2 separate regions of the Homo sapiens genome follow, and region 2 is linked to region 1. The links are contacts of gene promoters, found by promoter capture Hi-C in human tissues and cell types (Jung and others, 2019). All regions are on one chromosome and are shown on one strand. Each heading gives the region's core, a stretch centred on a gene start or on the middle of the fragment in contact. The rest is flanking DNA. Distances are from core to core; before and after follow the strand shown. Region 1 holds the start of PDGFRA (platelet derived growth factor receptor alpha). Region 2 overlaps LNX1 (ligand of numb-protein X 1).

Region 1 (7,758 bases), core at 3,633-6,132:
TCCCCATCACCGGGAGCTGGTGCGCCGGGGCAGCGGGGCTTCGGGAAGACGTCTTCGGAGCCGGGAAGACGACGCTGCTGGGCTAGGCCGCAGAGGCTCAGCCGGACTCGCTACTAGGGTTCTGTGCAACCCACGCTCTCGCCACCTCAGCATTTCCGCCCCCTCGGGGCAGGGGGACCGCCTGGACCTCGACGCCGTTCCCGGGCCGCGCTGTCCTATCTGTCCGCGCGCCACCGCCGCCCCCATAAACCAGCCTGGCGAGGGCCGCGACGGCCGCGCAGCTGATTGGAAACGACTGTTACCGTTGCACAATAACGCAGGGTCGTAAAACAAACAAACAGCAACAGGCCGCCCGCGGGGCAAGGGAGCTGGCGAGGGGCTGGAACGCAGAAGACGGCGCCTGCCCCCCAAGAACGCACGGGACCCGTCCTCCTCCACACTCCCCTGCTTCTCCCACATTGAATTACAAGGACGTCCCATTCTCAATCCAAACCCAGAGACCTCGGCCCCCTCTCGTCCACCCGGCGCCTCCCGGGCCCACACAGAGCCTGCGAGGAGTCCACTGGCTGCCCGGAGGAGGGGAAAGGTGACCCAGATTAGCCTCCGCTCCGGGCCCCCGGGGTTCCAGCGCTGCGCTCCACTGAGATAGCGGCGCCGACCGCCCGGGGCTGGGGAAAGCGGGATGCGTCCCCGGAGCCCACTAGAGGGCGCGACAGCCCCGCGAATCTTACCCGGCTCGCCAGCTAGCTCGCCCGCAGCCCAGGCTCCTGGTCCCCGACAGCGCAGCCGGGAGTGCTGCGCGCAGACTTCGCCCGGGAGGCTCTGCGCTCGGACTGTCCAGCCCCCGCCACTGTCCGGCTTCTGACCCCGGGACCCAGAGGAACACTGCGCGGTCCGCTCTCCCTCCCACCTCCACCAAGTCCTCGGCGGCTTGGTTGTCCCGGGGTTGGCGGCGATGCCCAGCCGCTCCGGGGACCTGCGCCCCTGCGCCCCTGCGCGCCGCGCTCTGAACCTCAGAGCTGCAGAGGCCGCTGCGCCCCAGGCACGACGCTCTGCGTTTGCATTGTTTTCAACTGAGACCCGAGAGGGGGCCGGGCGGGTGTGGAGAGAGGGGGGAGAGCGGGAAGAGAATCCGGGCGGGTGGGGGGAAAGGGGCCGAGGGGTTTAGGGTTACAGGAGCTCGCCAGCGCCTCCTATGGGCACGAGAGCCGCACGGCCGTGGGTAGCGGCTCACCGGGAATGCTGAGGAGAGCTAGCATGCGCCCTCTCGGCATTTAAGAACCGTTCCTGGCCGGGCGCGGTGGCTTACGCCTGTAAATCCCAGCACTTTGGGAGGCCGAGGTGGGCGGATCACCTGAGGTCAGGAGTTCGAGACCAGCATGGCCAATATGGTGAAACCCCGTCTCTACTAAAAATACAAAAATTAGCCTGGCGTGGTGGCGGGCACCTGTAATCCCAGTTACTCGGGAGGCTGAGGCAGGAGAATCGCTTGAACCTGGGAGGCAGAGGTTGCAGTGAGCCGAGATCGCACCACTGCACTTCAGCCTGGGCGACAGAGCGAGACTCTTGTCACACACACACACAAAAGTGCCTTCTGGTGCCACCTTGCCCGACACGCGCCATAGCCGCCTCTGCCCCCTCAAGAGTCCGCGCCCACCCGCGCTTGTCGCTCCCCTTTCGCGGGGGCCGAGAAACTGCAGTAGGAGGCAGGGAAGGAGGCGCCCCAAGTCGGGTTTCCCATTATTCCCTCCTACAATCTACTTTTTCAGCCCATCCCAGGTTCGCTCATTGATCAGTTTAAAACAAAAGGAAATGCCGCCGAGCCACTTCAGCAAACGACAACCATCTGGCAGAACCCGAATTAGGGGGAAGTTGGGAGAAGCCATTTGCCCCCGATCCTGCATCTTGCGCCCCAGGCGAGACCGAAAGATTATCTGCCGCCCCAAGGCTGATGCTGCGGTTGGACCCGGCGAGTTAGACCCGGGGAACCCTGAGACCCACACCTTTCGGTCACCGATCCGGCTTTTAGCTCTTTTCCTAGAATTGTCACTTTTCCACCAGCAACGTATAACCTGGTCGCAGCTCCCCGGAGGTCAAAGGGAGTACTTCCCTGTGGGGTCTGCAGGAAGGCGCTGGCCACCACGTCCCCAAAACGCGTCCCGCCGCTGCGCGCCGCCCACGGTCCGTCCCCAGGAGGCACAAAATGGGCCCGCCTCGGCGCCAGACGTGTTTGCAGCTGGAAAGCCCGGCCCAATGCCCCTCCCCCTGCATCCCTCCTCAGTCCGCGTCCCGAGAGGAAACTGGCCCAGGGGCGCAGAGCTGGGAGCCTGGGATCTCCTTCAAGTCCTTCTCGATCTAAGGATTTAAACAAGAGCCAGGGCACCGGGGGCTAACGACGGGTTCATTCTTGGCTTCCCCTCACTCTTGTGAACGAGGTCCAGCTGCACTTGGGTCAACCCAAAACTGCAAGCTCCGAAGCAGGGCCTGACCAGGGCGTCAAAGCGAGCCTGGTCGGCCTTGCGCCTGTCGGGGAGTCGAGGCAGGGCCTCCTCATCTTGAGGGTTGTGGAAAGGAGGAGGCCGAGGAGAAAGGGAGAAGAGGGGATGCAATTCAGCAGTGCCGGGGTCCAGGTTGACCAGATTAGGGGTCGGGGATGGGACAGCGCGGCGGCTGGGGAGGTGCGCACGCCCGGAGAGCCCCTTCCTCCCCTCCTGTGGCTCCGGGGATGTTTGTCCGGTGAGATGCACTGCGGAGGACTGTCGTGCGTTTGCCCTGGATGCTCCCTGCTCCAAAAATCTGTCTAGTTCTTGTCAGGAGCGACCGCGGCGAGGCGAGTCGGTCCAAAACATTGAGCAATTTGGCCTCGGAGCCAAAAAGCCATTTCCCACACCGCCCAGCCCGCGGCTTTTCGGACGCGGGGCGGTAGGGACCTGATATGGGCCCCATCCATGCTTGCCTCCCACCCAGGAAGATGGAGTGAGTGGCAAGTTCTTCCAGGCACTCCTTGCGCACATCCTGAGGTCTTAGCACAATTCGGGGAGCGAAGTGCGGGACCGGCGCTCTGGCTGCGGGAGGGATGCACAACGCACAGCCTGCCAGGCCAGCAAGTCCTTCCCGACCAAGACGCGAGGCCAGGCCATCGGCAGCTCTCGCACACCTGGCCCGGCCCAGGCTCCTGGCTCCCTCTGGCAACGTACTCGGGTTGGGCCACACTCGTCGCTCCGACCTGGCCGACACCCTCCCGGAATAGAACAGCTGATCCCACATATTCAATGCCAAATGGACGCCGCCCGCTCCCTGGGCGCAGCCGGGCGGAGTTAATTTCGTGTGTAAATCTGGTTTCCATGGGGGTAGACAGCAGAGGAAGGAGAAGTACGCACAGACGGCTCTGAAGCCGGCAGGGAGAGGAATGGAAAAAAGGCCAACTAGAGAGGACCGAGCAGCGCTGGGCGAGCTCAGACGGCAAGTGCCACGCACCCCCGCGCGGAGAAGGGTGCCGGGTAGGGGGTGTCCAGGGCTCGGGTGCCCGGAGGGAGAATATGGTTTACCTCCCACCTTTCTGTCTTACCTGCAAACAAGTTTCCCCAGTTCCAAGTCGTCCCTAACTTCCTCACAAGAAGTTCGGCACCTTCCTGGAGACCTTTCCTCTCTTCCTGCCTGCGGCCAGAACTGAGCGAAAGCAGAGCCCCCGGGCAATGCAGAAATGATTCCACCGAGGAGGGGGCGCGGGAAGACAGGCGGGGGCGGGGGCCACGGAGCACAATGAGGGCCCCTTGGTGTGCGGTTCGAAATTCCTCAAATCCCAGTTGCTGGAATGCGAGGCGACGACGACTTCTTCACTCAGGGCCAAATGTGTTTGTCATTATTCCAGACCGCCCGCCCGCGCCGCCGCTGTCGCCCCCGCGCTAGGGCGTGCAACCCGAGCACACTGCCCGGCAGGCACCCGCTCTCCCTGGCACCTCACTGACCCAACAAACCGCTCCAGAGCGCCCCAAACCCTTGCCCACGCCCGCGCGCCTCTGCTTGTCCCGCAGCCGCCTCACCGCCGCGCCAAATCTGGCCCCGACTCTCTCCCAGAGCAGCGCCGTCCAGTAATCACGCGCATTCGGCCGGCTCCCTGTGCTGTAGGCCAACACCGAGGTCCGGTCTCCAGCCGAGCCCAGCCCGCCTCCTGCGCCCCGCAACCCCTTCGCGCGCCCCCCTCCACGCTCCCCTCCACGCTCCCCTCTCCCCACCTCCCCCTGGTCCCCCAGCCGCGCTCCACACCATGGGCTGCAGCGCTGTCCCGCCAAACCGCAGGCGAGGAATGAAAACACTCATTTAAAACCTGTCGCCTTCCAGGACCCACTGCCAAGAAGAGGGCAAACACCTCTGCCTCCACCCCCAGTTCCTTGGTGTTCGGCCCAGTATTCACGAACACCACCCCCACTCCCAAAAGAAACCTCAAAAATGTAAGCCTAAACAATTTCTTTGGGAGGCCATAGGGTTGTTAGAAAAACATTGTTTTTAAAAATAGGTCTGGAAAATGTGTGTTTAAAAAAAATACCTAGACTTTCTAACTCTATGGTTATCTCCCACCCGTCCCCAAGTGAAGTTTATTCCGAAAAAAAAAAATTACTCTCTGGACACACAACTGGAATCCAGCTCCTTTTTTTTTTTCTTGTCGCCCAAAGTTTGAAGTTACTTCGCTTTCTCCAGTCCCAGAGTCTGATCAGGGACTTCCCTTATAAACAAAAAATCATTTTTTCTTTTCCCTTACCTTCTCCTCCGATGTTATTCCGCAATGAATGTCCCACACATGGAGTAAAGAGCGTGCCCACGGCCTCCAATGATCTCTTGCAGTCTCCTCCTCTGTTTCTCTCCCTGTAGCTCCAACAGTAATGGGCTCAAAAACCGCGTTTTGTAATTGATTCAATGTTATAGTCCATCCTTCTAAAACTAATCATTTGCTCTAAGTAAATAGCTGTCAGGAAATAAGCCCCCCCTCAACCTTGGTCTCTTCAAAATAAAAGTTTCTCTCAAACTCCCTGCGCTCCGAATCTCCCAGTGTCCAGATTGCGCCTTCGCTTTTTGCTCTTACGCAATCAGGGGGTCCAGTCCCAACCCCCAGACTTCGACAACAACTGGGGGGCGGGGAGAAGCAGACCAGATGGGATGGGGGGTGGTGGAAGGGGGAGGTGTTGGTGCTCTGCCGGGAAAGAGGTTTTGTGAAACTACAAACAGCCCATCATTTCCAGAATGAGTTTGCCTCCCCATTTTGGGGTTATTTTCTTAGACTGCTATAGTTTTGTATTCTCTTTGAAAAGAAGAAAAGGAACATACAAAATTGCATTTAATACCCAGAGAGAATATAAATCTAGAATCAAGAAATGTCCCTTCTACAAACTCGGCCCAACGAGAAATAGGGCCCTCGGGAGAAATCTCCAAGCGGTTGCGCCGTTTTGAACTAGGGGTCTTTTAGGGGAAGGGCTATATAGTTGCTAGTTATTTAATAGGATTGGGCAAACTGTTGAGTCCAATATGACAATGATGGGTTTTTGTTTTGTGTGGTGTGTGTGTGTGTACAAGACTGGGTGGTCTGAAATACGGTACAAAGAAAAGAGGGTCTGTGTAGGTTTGGAACGTTCTCCGATAGAACGACCTTTACTCCCTTGAAGTCACTTATCTGGTCGTGCCTTTGTTTTCGGGGTTATCTGGGCGAGGTTGCCCTGGCTTCTATCTCGCATACAAAAAAAGCTCAAGCTTGGGCGTTTGAGGAATCGTACCACCGCCTCCGCGTCGTGGGGGAGGATGCCTTTTGATTCTCCCTCCGTTCCCTCCCGCCGCGTGGGTCGAACCCTACGAATTCCTTGGAATTGACAGCTGAGCCCCAAACCCTGCGCCCAAGGCGAGAGGCCAGTGTCGGGAGGAAACGATCCTGCCGGCGAGGGAAAGGGGGCGCTGATGCTCCAGGAACCAGACCTGGGCAGAGTGGGGCTTCCCAGCGACAGCGGGGGAGGGGAGCGCGTTCACCTTCATCGCTCTCTGATTTTTGAATTCTCCTGTTGGGGTTGGGGGTCATCCTTCATCCTTCTCCCTCAACCCCACCCCAACACACGCACTCTGAAAATGGCCAAAGTGGCCAGGTTGGGACTGGCATGTCCAACAGCCGTCTCCTCCTTCACCAGGAGGGTGGACACAGTGCAGTGGACAGGGGAGAGTCACAGAGAAGTACTCCAACGGGCGCGGTGCTGTGCCTAACCAGGACAGGATCTTGGGATGTCAGCCTCGAAAACAGGGCGCCTGGGGCTGCGCTGGGGGTCCCATTGCCGCAGTTCTTCTACGCGACCCGCTCTCGTGCATCTTCAGCTTGGGTGACTGCACCGCTCGCTATTACTTCCACATGTCCCTTCAGGAAATCATTGAAGGCAAATATATGAACAGCCCCTTGTTCGGAATGCTAACAGGATACCGTAATGTTTGTAGAAAATGAGCGGGAACAAACGATCCCCCCAAAAATCAGAGTGCGGAATAAAAGGCAAAAGCGGGTGCTGGGCCACATGCTGTTAAGTTGAGAACCGGGTTTTTAGGCTAGTTGCCCCAGAGGGTAGGAGGCGAGACAGACAGCCTACCCAGAGGGGCTGCTTTGCTTCGGCGACACTGTTAGTCCGGTCAAGCCAGGGTCTTCCGTCCGCAGGGCCCCAGCGCTCTCCGCCCACAAATGGTAACTTCACAGTTCATTTCAGAGCCGTTTAATGGGGCCCGAGAAGCAGTCCGGGCGGGAGTGTCTCCAGGCAGCGACTCCTCGGGAGTTTAAAGCAGAAAGCAATGGATGAGCAAGCGAGCACCCAGTTGTCCTTCTGGTAGTAATTACCTGCCTAATTTGAATGATGCCTTTGTTATGATCATTAACAAACATTTGCTAAAGGTTTCCATGTGTGACATTCTGGAAGGTTTAAAGGCCTGAGGAGCTGACTCCAGGGATAGTGCCCCGGTGGGGGGTGGCGCAAGAAAGCAAATGGTTGGGGGAAAATTTTGCGGAGAGACTGTGCAAAGAAGAGAGGTCAACATCTGCCTCCTCTGCAAAAGCAAAATAAACCCAGTGGTCAGGAGCAACCTCCGGACAGGAGGCCCTCGAACCGAGGCGGTTGGTTCCTTAAACCGAGTCCTGCCCCCACAGCCCCCGCCCCTACCACTGCTCATAGGCGGGTTTGAATCCTGTTTTCCGCCTTCTAAGGCTGGTCCGAGGCTGGTTCGGGAGAAGTCGGGTCTGCGCCCGGCAGTCAGTCCGGGGCGTCGGGGGAAGGTGGGGCTAGTTCTTGCCGCGCTCTCCCAGTGTCGTTCTAAGATCCTTCGAGATCGGTCCCACGACGCCCCGGGTCCTGGGTGGTCCCGGAGCCGCAGGGGGCTAGAAACCTTGCCCTCCTGAGGCGGGCTGCGGGTCTTTTCTCCCCTTCTTGTGCTTCTCACTGGGCACCGTGTGGGGGGTGGGGGGAGGGGACCAGGCCACCATATGTACCCGGAGGAGAGGAGCGACATGCACTGGCCTGGGCAGCTCTGCGCAGATCTCAACCCGCGCCCGGATTCTAATTTTCAACCTCTTGGGGTTTTTTGTTTTGTTTTTTCCTTGAGGGATTATCAAGGGGTTAAGAATGTGGGTTTTCTCCCCAAAGTGGGAGTCGGGGAGGCTGCGAGCCGAGAGGAAGGAGGCCCAACTCCCGAATTGAGCCGGGCCGAGAAGTTGGGAGAAAAGGGTAGGGACTGTGACAGTTCTGTCCT
Region 2 (7,758 bases), core at 2,431-4,930, 650 kb after region 1:
TTTTCATTTCCCTTTTCTTGTGTTATTTACTATGTTGGTACATTTTGGAATGAGATTTATCAAAGTAAAGGAACGTTTACAAACAAATAAGAGAGCCCCACATTCCTCAGATAGCAATGGTTCTAAGGATTGGATATACATTATGAGTTCCAGTACTGAACTATTTAGCCACTGAAGACTATCTTCTGTTTATATAAATCCACCTAATGCCACTACATATTTTTGCATTTTCTAAGCTTCATTCATAGCCATTGCTTTTGTTTTTAAAAACTTCTTCATTTCTACCTTTTTACTCGTAAGATATATACCTCCTCCACCACCTCCAGGAATTGTTTTCTCCAGGCCTCAGGGCAGTGTCTCCTCCTCTACCCACTCCAGTAACAGCAGTAGTGTGTGCTATTGCTGCAAGAAAGTGGATGCAGTTTCAGGCTGTCTGGCAGTCACATCAAGGGAACAGATTCCCTCACTTCACTCTGGCATGGAGTTTTGGAGTTCATTCTACCCATACATTATAGGAGAGACACTGATAAATTGGGGAGCTTGCAGAAGAGATTTGGATGTGAAAGAAATACTGACTGAACCCGAGGCTACTCGCCCTGGGGGAGAACATGGGATCTGTCTTCAAATAATTAAAGGACTTAAAAAGTTAGGCATATTCTAAAGAGCTCCTAGGGTAACGGTGGCACTTGTGGAAAGGGCAGGTGAGGTATAGGAAAGGAAAATTTTGCTCATTATGTGGACTTTTTCCTCTATTAATCAAAGCTATCCAAAGGTAGAATCATCTATTTTATAAAGTAATAAAGGCCTTTCTCATCTGTCAGGCTTCCTTTTGACTCAGAGTCTGTGGCTATAGTGTTTCATCTTTGACAAGGTTAAAGTGCCAATGCAGGACACACCGCCATGTGACTATAAAGAAGGATTCTTTTTCATAATATGGAATCCTCCTCCTATTACTAGAAAACTGTGACTCAGGCAACAATTTCAGAGATGCTTTAGGGTCAAATCTTGTCCTTTCAATGGGAAGAACACGTAAAATTATCGTTGCCACATGCCAAATGTTATATTTATCCAATTGTCCTTCTAGTGGAGTATGTGGTTTATTCTGGCAACTACATCTGATAACCATTTTCTATAAAGCCAGGGTGCATTGAAAGGAGAATTAGCAGGACAACAGCACACCAAGGATCCCATTGTTCTGATGAGTTACCTGATGCAGAAATGTTTCCACTTCCAAACAGGCTGTATTCCAAAGGCTGTTCTTAAATCTGTCTAGTGCGTTGACAGTAGACACACGATCTCGAATGACCCTCTTGGTTGCAGGCGGCACCAACTGGCTTTTGCTCTGGTATGTGTCTTTATTGTCATCCAGGAAGTTCAAAATTTGAGAATTAGGCAGAGAAGCTTCTATACAGGTTTTAGGCTAGACAATAAAATCATAGGAAAGGAAGCAGGGATTAGGACCAAAAAGAGATGGGGGTTTTTATTTTTCTGGGTGCTTTTCAGCACTAGATTGGGGGTTTTGGCTCCATATATCTCTAAAAATCACCTCTGGTTTCTGTCCTATTCCAGATCAGAAAGAAGGAAAGGGTGATTCCTAAGGCACCACAGGGTTATACTGAAAAAGTGTAAGATTTCCACCGTACCCATCATACACGTACGTAAGGAGGGAATCAATCCACTCCACTACTCTTTCTTACTCTAAACTGCCAAAACACTGTATCACAGCTCTGTCTACTTACTTCAGTTAGGGCCAGAGATGCTGATGGCTGATACATTCAGTAAATTTATATGGACACAAAGCTGACAGGCCCTCTCTCTTACTTTTGGTGGGAGAAACTAGCTTACCTTTTCAGGCTTAATGATTTTTGATAATTTCTTCTCCATTCAGCAGCAAGGCTCTGATATGTCTGAAAACGTGATACATCATACATGTTTATAAGCTATACACTGCAAATAAGAACCACCAGGGAGATATTAATCATATTTTTTAAGTCTACCTGGTTCTTTCCCTTAGAGCCAAAACTGCTTGTTCAGTCAATTATCTCATAATCTGTTTCTATTCATGTAGGCTTTATTTAGTCTAAAATAAAGTCAGAAAATATATACAGCAGTGTTTACATTAACATAATATTAAGAATTTGGTTTATCCACATGGGTAAGTGCCAGGGAATTCAAATTGCTCTCAGAAAGAAAAAGAAAGGAAGGGAAAAGATAAAAGAAAATTGGAGGTGGAGCTAAATCTGCCATTTTTGCTTACTCCATTCCATTCATTCTGCCTCAGCACTCAGTGAAATCAAGGAATCTTTTTCTTCAGAGATCTTTGACATATCTACAGTCATGGACCCCATAACGACATGTTGGTCAATGACAGACTCCACATATGATGGTGATCCCATAAGATTAAAATACTGTTTTTACTGTACCTTTTCTATGTTTAGATATATAAATACTTACCATTGTGTTACAGTTGCCTACAGTATTTGGTACAGTTACATGCTGTACAGGTTTGCAGCGTAAGAGCCATAGACTACACATCTATATGGTGTATAGTCAGCTATACCGTGAAGGTGTGTGTAAGTGCACTCTATGATGTTCACCCAAGGACCAAATCGCCTAACAATGCACCTCTCAGAACATATCCCCATCATTAAGCAACACATGATTCTACTTGCAATAGAGCCTGAAGAGATTTAAAGCTTTCTAATTTCCTGGGTCTCTTGTATTTAATGAGTTACATTATTGGGATTCTGACTAGCCATAATCAAGAAAGATTCTGGGAGACAAAGTAGGGAAGTAGGAGCAGAAACTTGGAGTCAGACAGCCCCTGCCTGTTTTGTTTCTTTTTTTGGTGTGATTGACAAGTTATTTACCCTCTGCATTTCAGTTTCCTATGCCATTTGTGAGGATTGAATAACATAATATACTATAATATAAGGCCCCTAGCACAGTGCCTGGCGCATGGTAAATATTCAAAGAACTGTTAGATGAAAAAAGGATTTTTCCCAAACATCAAATCATCAAAAACAAAACAAAACATAAAAACCTCACTTGATTAGCACAGAATCATAGAACTCTATTTCTGGAAGGGACTGTTGTACACGATCTAGTCTGGTGGTTTGCAAGTTTTTTTTAAAAGCTAGGATTCTTTGACCAGAATATTAAGAGGAACATGATGCATTAAGGAAATAATGGCAGGCGGGGTGTGGTGGCTCACATCTGTAACCCTAGAACTTTGGGAGGCTAAGATGGGAGGATTGCTTGAGGCCAGGAGTTCAAGACCAGCCTGGTCAACATAGCATGACCCCATCTTTAAAAAATAATAATAATAGTAATGGCAGAGCTGGAGGAGTGGGCAAAGCTCCCCCTTGGTTTCCTCCTATCTCCACTCCCTTGGAAGATCTGGAAGTATCTGATGCCTTCCACAGCACAGTTTGAAAAACGAAAATCTGGTCCAATGCCACCATTTCACCAACAAGGGAATGGCCCAGAAACATGCAGTTGTATTTTCAGTGGTATGGCCGCACTGCAGCCTGAATTTATATTCCCCTACAGCATCATGAGAAAGAATAACCAAGACTGTAGCATGTGGGACTATATGGCAGAACACTACAGAGAAGCTTTAAAAGACCTAGAGCTTTAGTTCATCCTGTGTGAACCATTTTTCCCCTATAGATTGTAGATGATAATCTTTTGCATGGCCCATTTCCATTTTCATGTTTGTTTTTCAACTGTTTCTGATGTCACTTAAAGTATTTCCTGTGAGATTCCAGTACTTTCTAACAGCCTTGAGGACAATCAGCAGCTGCATAGATACAGATTTCCTTGAAACAACTTTACCCCCTCCTGCACCCTCTATCTTTGCCTTCTGTGGTCCTATCTGATGCTAAATAAAATGCTACAATTTCTAAATGTTTTTATATTAAGGGCATTTGCCAGCAACCTCTTCACTAGAGTGTCCTCTCAGGCATATTACTGCAGTACAGAAATGTAAACAACAAAGCTGACTCAATGAAAGCCTGAAGTCAATGTATTTTCTTTTTGAGATAAGGCTATGTTTGCACAAACAACCTCCGACTTTATTTGGAAAAGAAAAGAGATATAATACAGTTTATGACTGCTGGGCTGTTTCCAAATGTGGCTAATTTCCTGTTAGGTTATTCGTGTGTCTTTATGTTCTTGTGGAAAGCATAAGGTCTTTTAATTTACTTTTGGAAAAGAGGAAAGTTGAGTTGGGGCTGAGGGAAGAGGCAGGATTCTTTTTTTTTTAATTTATTTTTATTATTTATTTTATAATGTTTCCCCTCCCCTTAGCCCCACTAGAATGTCAGCTCTGTGAAGTCAGGGATTTAAGGCAGAAGAATGAAAATGCCCAACCTAAAATACAAGATCTACAAAAGCACCTGGATGAAGAGCCTGCCTCATGGGAAGGGCAGGGCTGTCCTGGGAAGAGTCAGCTGCACTTTGGCACCATCTGAGGTGCCTGTCCAAGCCTGACCTGAATAGGACTGGTCATGTGAGGGGTCAGTCCTGCAGGCTGCCCTCACACCTCTTCTCCAGATCTGCCATCTCCTTTAGGACCAGGGCCACGCTGTACCGCAGCTCCTGGAACTTGGCTATGGGGACCTCGAAGCGGTATGCTAACCCATCTGAAAGCTTCAGCTGCATCAGGACCCTCGGCTGCAGGAAGCGAGCCAGGGCACTGGTGGAGATTGTCACATCCACCCACCACTGAAAGTCAGCAACATGGGGCAGCCAGGCCCCCTGCTGCTGGGCCACAGAATCAAGGAGGGGCCGCTGGCTCCCAAATACCACGCTGGCCAAGTCCCCGACCAGGTCTTGGGGGATGCAGAGTTCCTGGAGCTGGTCCCTGAAGGTGTTGGGCTTCAGGCTGGTGGGGGGAAGATGGAGGGCCTGCTGGAGCAGCGTGTGCATGCCTGCCAGTAGGGCACCCAGCCACTCCTGCGGCAGGTTGGTGCTGACCCCAAGACACTGCACAGCCTCTCGGCAGTCCTCCCCTTGCAGGCTGCTGACCACAAACTTCAGCAACTTTCTAAACATGCTCCTGTTTAGGTCCCCTAGTAGCTGGTCCATTGCTGCCACCTCTGGAGGAAGCTGGGCCCCCAAGAAACTCACTCGGCCACTGTGACTACCACCAGGATGATGCAATACAGAGCTGTGGCCCCCACAGCAGACACTGCTGCTGCTTCCTCCTTGATTAGCCAGCCCAGGGGGTGGGTCCCAGATGCAGATACCTGGTGCCAGTGATCCCCAGCCAATGCAGCCAAAAGCGGGCCTGGTCCCAAGGTGGGATTCTTAATCACCATGAAAGTTGACCCAGAGCCCTAGTTTGCACTGGGCTCCTACTTGTGTGTGTGTCCATGTCACCTCTGGAATGGGGACTCCCTGAGGGCAGAAGCATATCCTTTAAGTCTCTCTCAAAGGTCTGCATATCAAACTCATGACCTAGCTCAGAGTTGGCGCTTGAAAACTATTTATTGACTTTCTACGCAAGAGACTTCCTAGATGCAAAGCAAGCATGTTGAAAAACTTGATTATTGTTGACTCCTATCTATGTTAAAGGAAAATATGTATTGTGGTAGTATTCTACTGTTTAAAAGAAATATCTAGGCTGGGCATGGGGGCTCACACCTGTAATCCCAGCACTTTGGGAGGCCAAAGCAGGTGGATCTCTTGAGGCCAGGAGTTCAAGACCAGCCTGGCCAACATGGCGAAACCCTGTCTCTACTAAAAATACAAAAATTAGCCAGGCATGGTGGCGCGCGCCTGTAATCCCAGCTACTCAGGAAGCTGAGGCAGGAGAATCACTTGCATCTGGGAGGTGGCAGTTGTAGTGAGCAGAGATCATGCCACTGCACTCCAGCCTGGGCAACAGAGCAAGACTCCGTCTAAAAAGAAAAAAAAAAAACGAAATATCTAATGGAATAAAAGAGTCCTATTAGAACAAAGCTTAAAGGCCCCTTATAGGAGCTCTAGCTTTCAGTTTCTGGGCCAACAGAGCTAGACTAGAGACAATGAATTCAGTAACAAATACATGTAAGAATTATTGAGCACTTAGTATGTGGTAGATGCAAATCTAAGAGCTTTATATATCATATCTCATTTCATCCTCACAAGAGTTCTATGAAGTAGCCTGTGATTATCCCCATTTTACAGATGTGAAAACAGAGTCTGAAATCATTGGCCCATAGTGGTGGGATTTGAACCCAGGCAAAGTGTCCAGAGCCCACTTAGCCACTAACGACCAACTGAGTGAAATGCATACAGGAGACAACAGTGCATTTATCATAGTGAAAATATGAAAGGCTCAACAGCACTATTTTCTCTCAGATGACTTAGTTGAAAGCTCTGATCTCCTACTTTTTCTGAGTTTGGGAGAAAGATGGGGAAGAAAGATAAGAGAAAGCCATCACAGTGTTAACTGTTTTTTGTTTTTTTTTTCTTGTCCTGATCTGACAAGAATTTTACAAATCACTGGTCTATTTAATTTTCTTAACAAATTACATTTTTTAGAGTTACTTTAGGCATTTCCCAGATATTACCCAAATGATTCTTACCACACCAATGTGAGGATGTGAAAGGTGAACATTATTCCCACTGGCATGCGTGGAAAAACAGAGGCACGAGGAGGCCATGGGGCTTGCCCAAGGTCCTGTCAGTCACTCCAGAGTGGACCCTCAACCCTGGCTTTCTGAATCGTAGCTCAATTCCCCATGCATTGGCAGCCCTGTCTCATGTCTACCATAAGCATAAGCCTTTCATGTGCTGGGAAGCAAAGGTGAGCCTTCTTGTTCTTTTTTAGGTGTGTGGATGTCTCCTAGATCTTGACTTGCTCCTGAGGAAATATTGTGTGACTGAGTTTCCTGTTATACTGCTCTCCAATCCATCATGAACCAGCCAGAGTCTGCCAACGATCCTGAACCCCTGTGTGCAGTGTGTGGCCAAGCCCACTCCTTGGAGGAAAACCACTTCTACAGCTATCCAGAGGAAGTGGATGATGACCTCATCTGCCACATCTGCCTGCAGGCTTTGCTGGACCCCCTGGACACTCCGTGTGGACACACCTACTGCACCCTCTGCCTCACCAACTTCCTGGTGGAGAAGGACTTCTGTCCCATGGACCGCAAGCCTCTGGTTCTGCAGCACTGCAAGAAGTCCAGCATCCTGGTCAACAAACTCCTCAACAAGCTACTGGTGACCTGCCCATTCAGGGAGCACTGCACCCAGGTGTTGCAGCGCTGTGACCTCGAGCATCACTTTCAAACCAGGTAGGTCCCCCATCAGCGAGCCGGTAAGTCCCACCCCCAAGCGGGACAGCTGGACCCCTCCACCCCCCAGTCTCCTGAGGGCTTCCAACCAATGAAATGATCCATTCAAAATAAAAAAACAGCTAGGTGTTTATGGTCATGATTCAGTGTGAGGAAATAGCATTTGGTGGAGTTGTGTTGTATGTATGTGTTTATGGGATTTTTTAAAATTCTAATAAAATGTAACATAAAGTTTACCATTTTTAACCACTATGAGTATACAGTTCAGTGGTATTAAGTACTTTCATGTATTGTGCAACTATCACCACCATCCATCTCTAGAAATTTTTCATCTTCCATAATGGAAACTCTATATCCATTAAACACGAATTCCCCATTCCACCTTCCCCCAGCCCCTGGCAGCCACCATTCCACTTTTTGTCTCCATGGATATGACTGCTCTAAGTGCTTCATATCAACGACATCATACAGT

The links. The method cuts DNA at HindIII sites, captures the fragments that hold promoters and counts their contacts. A contact is called where the count stands out against the background at its distance.
Region 2: a contact is called between a fragment that was not itself captured here and the fragment with the promoter of PDGFRA in region 1, in 2 of the 25 tissues and cell types used here (IMR-90 fibroblasts and aorta).

Annotation. Positions count from the first base shown.
Region 1 is chr4:54,226,417-54,234,174 of GRCh38, reverse strand. It overlaps PDGFRA (platelet derived growth factor receptor alpha), which reads right to left and starts at 4,882. Exons shown (of 23, transcript NM_006206.6): 1 at 4,760-4,882. RefSeq lists enhancers at 372-491, 302-852, 5,584-6,409, 7,238-7,758 and silencers at 712-821, 7,532-7,719. The HindIII fragment of the contact is 9,376 bases long and covers 1,245-7,758 here.
Region 2 is chr4:53,573,151-53,580,908 of GRCh38, reverse strand. It overlaps LNX1 (ligand of numb-protein X 1), which reads left to right. Exons shown (of 11, transcript NM_001126328.3): 2 at 6,821-7,286. The coding sequence starts at 6,907. It also overlaps the pseudogene COMMD5P1. Among named protein-coding and RNA genes, the nearest start is that of LNX1, 14 kb to the left of the region's middle. The HindIII fragment of the contact is 3,261 bases long and covers 2,050-5,310 here.